Linked DNA regions of Homo sapiens: region 2 is linked to region 1. Evidence: promoter capture Hi-C in 16 types of primary human blood cells and fetal thymus (Javierre and others, 2016). All regions are on one chromosome and are shown on one strand. The core of a region is centred on a gene start or on the middle of the fragment in contact, and the rest is flanking DNA. Distances in the headings are between cores, read along the strand shown. Region 1 holds the start of SMPD1 (sphingomyelin phosphodiesterase 1). Region 2 overlaps DCHS1 (dachsous cadherin-related 1).

Region 1 (5,437 bases), core at 2,938-5,437:
AGCTGGGGGATGGGGAGCTTCCAGGCTATAGGGAAATTTAAACATTTTCTGGTTGACAATTGGTTGAGTTTGTCTAAAGACCTGGGATCAATAGAAAGGAAATGTTCAGGTTAAGATAAAAGATTGTGGAGGCCGGGCACAGTGGCTCACACCTGTAATCCCAGCACTTTGGGAGGCTAAGGCAGGCGGATCACGAGGTCAAGAGATGGAGACCATCCTGGCCAACATCGTGAAGCCCCATCTCTATTAAAAATATGAAAATTAGCTGGGTGTGGTGGCAGATGCCTGTAGTCCCAGCTGCTCGGGGGGCTGGGGTAGGAGAATTGCTTGAACCCGGGAGGCGGAGGTTGCAGTGAGCCGAGATTACACTGTTGCACTCCAGCCTGGGCGACAGAGTGAGACGCCATTTTTAAAAAAAAAAAAAAGATTGTGGAGACCAAGGTTCTTTGAAGTCTCTTAGTGGCTGCCCTTAGAGACAACAGTCGACAAATGTTTCCTATTCAGACCTTTAAAAGGTGCTAGACTCTCAGTTAATCTCTTCAGGATTGGAGGGCCCAGAAGAAAAAGATCTGTGTTATTAGAGATTCTTTACAGATGTAAATTTTCCCCCATAAGGTACGACTTTGCAGGGCCATTTCAAAATATGGCAAAGTGGCCGGGTGCGGTGGCTTACTCCTGTAATCCCAGTACTTTGGGAGGCCAAGGCAGGCGGATCACCTGAGGTCAGAAGTTCGAGACCAGCCTGGCCAGCATGGCAAAACCCCATCTTTATTAACAATACAAAAATTAGCTGGGCATGGTGGTGGTGGGTGCCTGTAATCCCAGCTACTCGGGAGGCTGAGGCAGGAGAATCCCTTGAATCTGGGTGGGGGAGGTTGCAGTAAGCCAAGATCACCCCATTGCACTCCAGCCCGGGCAATAAGAGTGAAACTCTGTCCCGCCCCCCACCCCAAACCAAAAAACATATATATATATATATATATATATATATATATATATATATATATGGCAAAGAAACATGTTTTGGGGTAAAATATTTTGACTTTCTTCTTTATCACGTAATTTTATGCCAGAGTATGACTGAAAAGGCAGTCACAATATATAGTGTTAAATAAAACCCAACTGATAAGAATTTATGGTTTGTAGGGCATGACTCCCCAGACCCTTTCGATAGGAATTTGAGCAAGATAAGAAAAAATCAGAGCTTAGTCCTCATTAGGAACTGCCTCTTCTTCTCCTTTAAAAACCCACTTGTGACTTCTGCTAATTGGGAGCATATACTCAGGGCAACTTGAATCTTCGCTTCACAGTCTTCAAACTTGGCCCAAATAAACTCTCTACTTATATCAAGTTTGCCTTAGATTTTTCCCTTTAGGTTGACATTTCCCAGAAGTTTTAATCAGATGAAGAAAGCTCCCAGAAGGTTTATTTCTGCATCTATTGAATCTGAAATGTCTTCGGCTTAAAATAATTGTTATACCAACTCTGGTGTTCTGAATGGGTCCCCACACAGCAAAGAATAGAGCCAGAATGTTGCATTTGTGAAAGGAAAATAAAAACTCAGGACTCCAGTTGACTATGCCAAAAGGAAAAAAAATAAACTGAAAACTGAGTCATGCAAGAAGCTGCCTTTCCTTTTGTTCCTAAGCAGATAGCTACAGACAAAAGGTTAAATATTTACAAAATTAGCCGGGTGTGGTGGCACATGCCTGTAATCCCAGCTACTCAGTAGGCTGAGGCAGGAGAATCACTTGAACCCGGGAGGCAGAGGTTGTGGTGAGCCGAGATTGCGCCATTGCACTCCAGCCTGGTCAACAACAGCGAAAACTCTGTCTCAAAAAAAAAAAAACAAAAAAAACACAAAAGGTTAAATATCTCCACAGGCATATTTACTTTATCTTATGTAAAGTGCCAGACGAACACATAATTGAGTATCTCCCTACCTGCTCCTTTTCTCTTGCGACATGTGGATTACCATACCCTTCTTCTTTCCCTCCAGCTCACTTTTCCCCTTTAAATATTGAAGCCCTCAAAATCATCTTTGGAGAAAGCCACAGACCACAGACTGTTTCTGCGATTCCGTGTTTATTTCTTCCAGCCATGTCCTTAACCTTGGCAAAATAAACCTCTAAATTGATTGAGACCTGTCTCAGACATGTTTTGCTTGACACATCCAAATTCCAGTTCCAGCACTTACTAGCTAGCTGTGGGATCTTGAGCCACTTACTTAATCCTACTTTCCTTCTCCGTAAAATGGGGATAATTATAATACCGACTTCCAAATTTGTTGTGAGGATTAACGTAAGGCAGAGTCCTCAGAAAAGTACCTACAGAGGGTTATTCGGGCCAAGGGCCAAGGTTGAGGACTGCGACCCAGGACACACTTGCAAGTTGTCTTGGGGGAGCACTCTGGACAACAAAAGAGAGGCTCATATTTTCAAAGAAAAAAAGATGAATTAGGAGAGGAAATGAATACAAAAGTTGTTCATCAGGAATTCTCATTGTTTACAGAAATAACACTGGTTATACATTGTTTAGCGCTTGGCTATACATTGTTGAACTATAAGGTGTATGGCATTTAATGGCTACTTGGCATAGCAAGTGGTTTCAAGAGATAATTACTTAGCTCAAAGAAGAGTGAGAGTGACTGTTGCTACATTTTAAATGCCTGTCTGGGCCTGATAATTTAAAGGGGCTCATCTTCCTTAGATAAAAAGGTTTTGTTTTGTTTTGTTTTTCATAGTACATAATCTTAAAAATGCATGCTAATTATTACTGTGAGTACTCTATCTGAGATGATGTCCCCAGAACTGGGGGGAAAAAACACTTGTAAAAAATTATCAAAGGAAAGAACTGACAGGACTTGATAGCTCTGAGGATTCCTCAGAAGCACTCGTCAAACAGCTTAGGGTTTAATTGCTATTCTGCCACTTAACTTCTTTGTGCCTCATCCTATCTGTAAAGGAGGGTAATAATAGTATTTGCAGGGACCAAGGGAAACTTTCCCTTCGCCCTCTGAAATTCTGCTGAAAAATCAACCCACAAAAAACAGATTAATTGAAGAAAAGGCATAGAAATTGTATTAATGTGTCCACGGGGAACCACAGAGTGACTACCCACTTCCCAGACGAGTTCAGAAGCTTAGGTGTCATTCAGGCAAAGGGGGTTGTGGGAGTGAGGGGAAGAGGAATTCTGCTGAGGGAGAAGGAATGGATCAGGGAACAGATTAACTAGCACATTATCATGTGAAGGGGTCTGTTCAGGTGTGATTATATTCTTGGTTTTGTAGGGAGGGGAAGAAAAAAACCGTTGTTCCTTTTGATGGGTCTGGACGCTAGGTAACGGCTTTGGGAGAGAGGGCGCGGGAGTAGGAAGGCCAGACACACCTTAAGGCTTAACTTAGTAAGTCAAACCACCATATTTTGGGTATGGATTTCTGAGCCCCAATATAATAGGTACTTCTTAGGGTTGTTGTGAGAATTGAAGATTATTAATTATAAAGTGCCTGGGTTGGTGCTTGGCACATCATAAACAACTCCATAAATGCTCGCTTTTACTGTCGTGGATACACGGAGGTGGGAGACCCAATTGGGTTCCCGCCCATGTTATTGGCCCCCACGGCTATATGGTCTTTACGGCTTCCTAGTCTCTTCACCATCTCTAAGGTTTGTTTCCTCATCTGAATCACAGGTGAGTGATTCTCAGGGTGACTCAAGAGGGCTGGTGCCAGTGGCAGAGCATGGGGAATCGAGGGAAGGCGCCTTCCTGTCAGAGGCAACACACCCAGTGGGAGGATCCTGCCCGCCCTGCTCTCTCCTACCTCCCCTTCCCGGGCTAAACGCTGGGGTCGGTCTGGCAGCTATTCCGGGAATCTGAGCGCGGATTCTGACAAAGGAGACGTCTTCCACCGACCACATCACATGGAGCTCCAAAGCACGAGCACGGCCTCCCGCGGCTGTGACCTCAAGGCGGAGCCCCTGGTGACCTCAGGGAGAGTCCCCACCCCCGCAGCCCGTGCGCCCGGGGCAGGGCGGGGGCAGGGAGAGGGGGCGGAATCGGGGCGGTCCCGGGAGCGCCCCGCCCCCTCCGCCTCCGCAGCGTTGACAGCCGCCCGCCACCGAGAGATCAGCTGTCAGAGATCAGAGGAAGAGGAAGGGGCGGAGCTGCTTTGCGGCCGGCCGCGGAGCAGTCAGCCGACTACAGAGAAGGGTAATCGGGTGTCCCCGGCGCCGCCCGGGGCCCTGAGGGCTGGCTAGGGTCCAGGCCGGGGGGGACGGGACAGACGAACCAGCCCCGTGTAGGAAGCGCGACAATGCCCCGCTACGGAGCGTCACTCCGCCAGAGCTGCCCCAGGTCCGGCCGGGAGCAGGGACAAGACGGGACCGCCGGAGCCCCCGGACTCCTTTGGATGGGCCTGGTGCTGGCGCTGGCGCTGGCGCTGGCGCTGGCGCTGGCTCTGTCTGACTCTCGGGTTCTCTGGGCTCCGGCAGAGGCTCACCCTCTTTCTCCCCAAGGCCATCCTGCCAGGTTACATCGCATAGTGCCCCGGCTCCGAGATGTCTTTGGGTGGGGGAACCTCACCTGCCCAATCTGCAAAGGTCTATTCACCGCCATCAACCTCGGGCTGAAGGTGAGCACTGAAGGGGCTGCAGTGGAGGAGGCCGAAAGGAGTGCTGGGGCTGGGGGCTGGGGCTGATGCTGGTGCGCTGGGCTCAGAATGCATCCCTGATGGAGAGGGTGGCATCTACAATCCATCACTGAGTTTGCTCCCCTTTGGGGACACCCATGGCTACATGCCACCATCACCCCATTGTGACCTTTGTGAAGTAAGAAAATAATGCAGACAGTGCCTGAGGAAGTCAGCTTGCCAAGCAAAGGCCTCATGCCACAGGCCGCTGAGCTAAAGAAGAAGCGATGGCCTGGTGCTGCCTGAGTTACAGGGCAATATCTGGAAGGCAAAGGTGTGCACTGAGCTTGGTGCACTGAGTCCTGCCCAGCCCCAGTTTGGAAATGGAGGCCCAAGGGGTGGTGGCCAGGGGTTGGCCTGGTTCCTCTGCTCTGCCTCTGATTTCTCACCATGCGCTCCTCCCACTGCAGAAGGAACCCAATGTGGCTCGCGTGGGCTCCGTGGCCATCAAGCTGTGCAATCTGCTGAAGATAGCACCACCTGCCGTGTGCCAATCCATTGTCCACCTCTTTGAGGATGACATGGTGGAGGTGTGGAGACGCTCAGTGCTGAGCCCATCTGAGGCCTGTGGCCTGCTCCTGGGCTCCACCTGTGGGCACTGGGACATTTTCTCATCTTGGAACATCTCTTTGCCTACTGTGCCGAAGCCGCCCCCCAAACCCCCTAGCCCCCCAGCCCCAGGTGCCCCTGTCAGCCGCATCCTCTTCCTCACTGACCTGCACTGGGATCATGACTACCTGGAGGGCACGG
Region 2 (5,729 bases), core at 445-2,944, 240 kb after region 1:
TGTCAGCACATAGTGGGGCCGCTCTGCTCGGATCAGGGGAGCTGCAGTGAGCAGCTCCCCTGAGTGAGGGTGCAGAGAGAAAAGCTCTGAGCCAGGACCTGGGGACAGGCAGAGGAAGATGAGGGCTTGGGGCCCAGAGCTGGGCAGGCCATGAGGGCATGCCATCACCCACCAATTCTCCTCTCTCCACTCCCATACCAGTTAGCGTGTACAAGATGGTCCCATTCTCCCCCTCATCTGGATCCTTCGCCTGCAGAGTCGTCACCAGTGTTCCCGGAGGCACGCGGTCTGGTACCTGTGGGAACACAACTCACCTAGTGAGTCTCTTTCCTGTTCTTCAGACAACTCAGGATAAAGCTTCCCTCACCTGTGGGCAGGCAGAACCTCTTTTCGGCTCTCACACCCAATCCAGGAGGCAGTCTCTTACCTACACCTACAGCTCTATGGGGAGATCCCCACTCCCTCTCACACTTCTCAGGACAAAGTCCTGCCACTTCACATACCTGTATAGGGAGGCCCCCACCAGCAGCTCCTGAAGCCTGCAGGAACGTGGGGCTGTTGTCGTTGAGGTCAAGCACTGCAACATGCACAGTGCCTGTGGTGCTGCGGGGTGGGCTCCCTCCATCCTGCACCTGCACCAGGAGCTGATAGCTGCTCTGCTGCTCACGGTCCAGGGTTTGGAGTGTGGTCACTTCTCCTGGGAGTGCAAGAAGGCGATCATGTACGAGATGTTTAAGGATGCAGAGCCTGAGGCCTGCACCTAAGAAGCTGGTGTTTGGGGAGTGGGGGAGGGAATGCCAGGGCTAAATCCTCATTCTCAGGGGCGAGATGGGAGCTGGGGGTTGGGGATCCTGTCTGAATGTTCACCAGGCTGGGGATAAGGCTATGCGGTCTCAGGATTTGGGTCTCTGTGCTCACCAGTCTGGGGGTGGATGCGGAAGGCCTTGCTGTCTTCAGACAGCTGTTGCAGGCTGTAGGTCAGACGTCCATTGGGTCCTGAGTCTCGGTCAGTGGCAAAGACTCGGCCCACGCTGGTCCCTGGGGGCTGGTTCTCAGCCACAGCCAGGAAGGTGGGATCCTCAGACAAGCGGGGACTGTGTTCATTCTGGTTGAGGATGCTGACCCTCACGGTGGCTGTGCCTGTCTGCTGCCCCAACTCAGCTTTGGACCCAGACACTGCCATTACCTTCAGTATGTACAATTCCTGGGCCTCACGGTCTAGTGCTGCCCGCACCCATAGCCACCCACTCTGTGGCTCCAGGCCAAAGGGGCTACTTGCTCCCTCTGCTGCAAGGTGATAGGTGATAGGGCCCCCATCTGGTGCTTGGGCCTGCACTTGCAGGACCTGAGTTCCAGCAGTGGTGCCTGAGGGCAGGTCCACACGGTAGGTAGGGCTGTTGAATCGGGGAGCCAGCCCACGGGTTCCCACATCCTGTACCACCACCCGTAGTCGAAAGTGGCTGGTGCGTGGTGGGGAGCCCCCATCCCGGGCCTCCAGCTCCAGCTCATGGGCTGGCCCTCCTGAGGGCCCCAGAGGCCTCATAAGCCGTACATGGCCTGTGGTGGGGTCCACGGTGAAGGCTCCACCACCCCCAGCAAGCAGGGTAAAGGTGACTCGACTGTTAACACCTGAGTCGGGGTCAAGAGCCCGCAGTGTATAGATGGGAGTCCCTGGGGCAGTGTTTGGTGGTAGCAATACCGTGTCTTCAGGTGCAGGAAAGGCAGGGGAGTTGTCATTCACATCATCCAGCAGCACACGCACCCGAGCTACAGCGAAAGCTGGGGGCACTCCACTGCCTGCTCGCACCTCCAGCTCCAACACTGGTCCCAGTAGCTCCCGGTCCAGAGGGCGAAGTGTTTGCAACAGTCCTGATACCGCATCTAGGGAGAAGAGTCCTCGGGGATCCCCACCTGATAGGGAAAGGGTCACAGGTGCCAAGCGACCTAGGGAGGATGAAAAAGGGATCAGGAAAGAGATGGAGGGGCACTTATTGAGTCAGGACCCAGAGTCTGATCCCGAGAAGGACTGGGCAGTGCCCACACCCATGCCTTTCAAAATATTAGGAGGAGGGGCAGGGGTTGGCAAAGAAGTTGGTTGGCACGCACTGAGGTGACATTCCTATGCCTCATGAAGCAGTGTGCCTGCACTGTGCCTAAGGAGGTGTTGGGCATTGGTACAGGAGTGTTTTATACTGGGGCTATCTGCCCTGTGATACTCTAAGGTATCTTCGGATGGTGCTGGAGGGTTATACTGGGGTATTTGGGTCTGACACCAAGTGGGTATAAAGCTAAATGATACCTGGTGGGTTGTGTGCCTGGACTATGCCCACACTGGTGCCTGGTGCCACATCCTCTGGCACAGAAAAAACATACTGTAGTTGCTCAAATATGGGTGGTGTGGGGGTTCCAGGCACAATGCTGATGTCCACTCGGGCACTGGGTTCTGCCTGTAGGCCACCTCCGTCCTCAGCCCCGATCTCCAGCTGCACCACAGAATTGGCCCGTCTGGCCAAGGGCCAGGCTACTGTCAACAGCCCTGAGAGGAAGAATAGAAGCAGAGATATATAAGGAAACATAATAGGGCTAGAAAGGTTATGGAGGAGGTGGGTAGGACATCATTTAGGCAGGTGGGGAGGGGGACCTGGGGGAAGGCCCCGGGAATGGGAGGATCCTCACCTGATTGCTCATCCAAGGTAAAAAGTGGGGGGCTGTTGCCAGCCAGGATATGGTAGGAGAGTCGCCCATGGGATCCCTGGTCAGGGTCATGGGCACGCAACCTCAGCACAGCTGTGCCTGGTGGACTCTGGGCACTTATACTGGCAGCATACTCCCGTGGATAAAACTGAGGAGGGTTGTCATTCTCGTCTGACAGAAACACCTTCACATATACCATGGACTTGAGGCCTCCCTGGTGGGACATGCAGCCATAGGTCAGGTGGGCCTCATCTGGCCCTGGTGAGTGCCCTACCCCAACATCCCAACCTGCCCTTGGTCTACTGACTTACCCCATCCACAGCTGTCACTGTGAAGTCAAAGCTTGAGGGCCCCTGGTCACGGTCCAGGGTCCGGGTTGTGCACACATCACCGCTGTGGGCATCAATGCGGAATGGGGGAGATCCGGAGGACCCAAGTCCAGCACCCAAGGAATAGGAGAGGAGGCCAAATGGGCCACTATCCGCGTCTGTGGCTGTCACCTAGGGAGAGGCTGGGGTGAGTGGTGTCCCCTCTTCTTTGCCAGAAAAGCCAGAGGTAGGTGGCCATTAGAATGAACAACTGGTGCTAAGTCTCTGGATGGCGGACACACAGAGAGGACTAGTAGGACATGGGCCCAAACCCAACCTCAGCCTGTACCTCACCATTTAGTTAGGTTCCTAAGTGCCTCTAGCCATAACATTTTTTGTCAGCTGGTCAATACATAACCTTGTTTGATGTGTGTTTCTGTTTAAAGACATCTTATGTTTAATATACATTGTTCATTCATTAACATTGAACTCACAGCCAACAGCACTGTAACTCATGCCTGAATAAAGCTTATCTAACATATGTATTTTCTCCATACAACACATCACAGCCTTCTTGTACTGAGGAACATTAGACCACACTTCAGCACTACACTTGGGGACCATTTAAACAGTGAAATCATCAGCTTTTTGCACTAAAAAAATGAAAAAAAAAAGTTGCAGTAAATAGACCTGAAAGGGACATTTGTTTACAAGCATGAGAGCCCAAATGAGAAGGCAGAACATCGTCTTGTTCACCCTGTGCTGGGAATGTGAACATTAGGTAACTCAAATTTTTCATCTCTCTGCCCATGTCCAGGAATGCTAGTATTGATTTTGGAGTTACAAATAAATTTTCGAGATTAAGTGAATTCACAAATAATGAGGACCAACTGTACTTAGAAAGAAGAAAGGGCTGTGACCTCAAATTCCAGGTGGGTCCAGGAAGTTAATACCCTCACCAAGTCTCATAATCACCCCAAACCAAGAACTCACCGACAGTGGAATTATTGAGACTGATTTATAGGTTTGATCTTTATTGAGTTTGATTATTACAGAGTGGGATCTGATTAATACTGGGATCTGATCACTATAGGGTCTGTTCTATAGATTTATGGGTGTGTGGCTCATGCATCGTTAGCCTAGTACAGTGCAAGGTACATAGTAGGTGCTTTATGTGTATTTTTTCACCGAGTAAATCGACGGTCTGATCATCCTGCTTTGTAACAAAACCTTCTTTCACACTAAGTTTTATACATTGGGTACACATTAGGCCCTCAATAGTGGGTTAGCTGGTGCTGACAACTGTAGCCTGTGACAAAGCGCTCTTTGTGGATATAAGGACCTCAGGGTCAGGATATGCTGCAAGAGGAAGCTGGAGAGTTCCCCTTTCTCAGCCAGAAAATGTGCTTAGAGAGAAAGCTGGCCAAGGACTTCTGATTGTGGCCCAGACCCTTGACAGAAATGATCTGTGCCATTGTTTACCCTCCTGAGAGACACCAAGACCCTGCCATGGCTGAACCCTGGAAACAGCTTCTGCTCCAACTCTCTACTGTGGCTGTGGGCCCGGATATCCCAGGAGACAGACTTCCCCTACATCAATCCTGGCAGGCAGCAGCACAGCTGCGGCACCATCTCCAGAAGCTGTTAACGACCTTTGCCCTCTGACTCGCTGCAGGAAGAAAGCAATAAACAGTGGTCTGGGGAAGTTGTCAGGAAGTGACCCCAAAAGGCACAGGGGCCACTGACTGGAAATGAGCAAGGCAGAAGTGAATTTCCTGGCCTGTACAACCCCTGCTCAGAGGTTTCACTGCAAATACAGTCTCCATTTTCAGCAGATTCTCAGCTCAGCGTCTCAGTCCGACCTTGGTCGGCTCCCTCTCCCATTCTGCCCCAAAGCCATAATAAACTTCATCCCTCTTCTCTTGCCCCCATCCCATCCCTTGCTCTCATCAGATGCACTATTTCAAGGAGAAAAGAAAGACACTTATCTGTGAACTCTCTAAACTTCTTACTAGCCTCGAAACTTACTCCATATGCCTATCCCAACCTCTTTTCCAGGTGTACCTCCTGCTTTGACTTTTCAAAACATAAATTATTTATTTATTTAATTTATTTTTGAGACAGGCTCTCTGTTGCCCAGTCTGGGGTGCAGTGGTGTGATCCTAGCTCACTGCAACTTCGAACTCCTGGGCTCAAGCAATCCTCCTGCCTTAGCCTCCGGAACAACTAGGACTACAGGCGTGCACCACCATGCCTGGCTAGTTTTTTTATTTTTTGCATAGACAGTGTTTCACTATGTTGCCCAGGCTGGTCTCAAACTCCTGGCCTCAACCAGTCCTTCCACCTTGGCCTCCCAAAGTGCCGAGATTACAGGCGTGAACCACTGTGCCTGGCCTTTATTTATTTTTTAAGACAGGCTCTCACTATGTTGTCCAGGCTGGTTTGGAACTCTTGGGCTCAAGTAATCCTCCTGCCTCAGCCTCCCGAGTAGCTTGGATTACAGGGATGCATCACCATGCCCATCTCTCCTGCTATGACTTCTTGATGCTACTTTTCCTGCTTCTCCACCCACTGCTTCCCCCACCACCCACTGCCAGTCTTCCTCCATCTCCCCTTATCTGCCTGTTCTTACACACTGTTCCCTGGAATCTCTCCTTGGCCTCTTCTCACTCCACACATTCTCTCAGGGCCTTGCCTTTTACTTCAGCCATCGTCTATACTTTCACT

The links. Contacts are between HindIII fragments. The CHiCAGO score rates a contact against its expected background, and 5 or more counts as called.
Region 2: a fragment that was not itself captured here is called in contact with the fragment with the promoter of SMPD1 in region 1 in 7 of 17 cell types (activated CD4 T cells, non-activated CD4 T cells, naive CD4 T cells and 4 more); the score reaches 8.4 in activated CD4 T cells.

The regions. Positions count from the first base shown.
Region 1 is chr11:6,386,287-6,391,723 of GRCh38, forward strand. It overlaps SMPD1 (sphingomyelin phosphodiesterase 1), which reads left to right and starts at 4,188. Exons shown (of 6, transcript NM_000543.5): 1 at 4,188-4,630; 2 at 5,098-5,437. The coding sequence starts at 4,313. It overlaps LOC124902624 (a long non-coding RNA gene), which reads right to left and starts at 4,070. Exons shown (of 2, transcript XR_007062573.1): 1 at 3,821-4,070. RefSeq lists a silencer at 3,905-4,404. The HindIII fragment of the contact is 7,977 bases long and covers 3,139-5,437 here.
Region 2 is chr11:6,631,113-6,636,841 of GRCh38, forward strand. DCHS1 (dachsous cadherin-related 1) reads right to left here. Exons shown (of 21, transcript NM_003737.4): 3 at 3,006-3,194; 4 at 2,677-2,908; 5 at 2,300-2,536; 6 at 919-1,944; 7 at 504-697; 8 at 199-295; 9 at 1-98. Among named protein-coding and RNA genes, the nearest start is that of TPP1, 15 kb to the left of the region's middle. The HindIII fragment of the contact is 2,679 bases long and covers 356-3,034 here.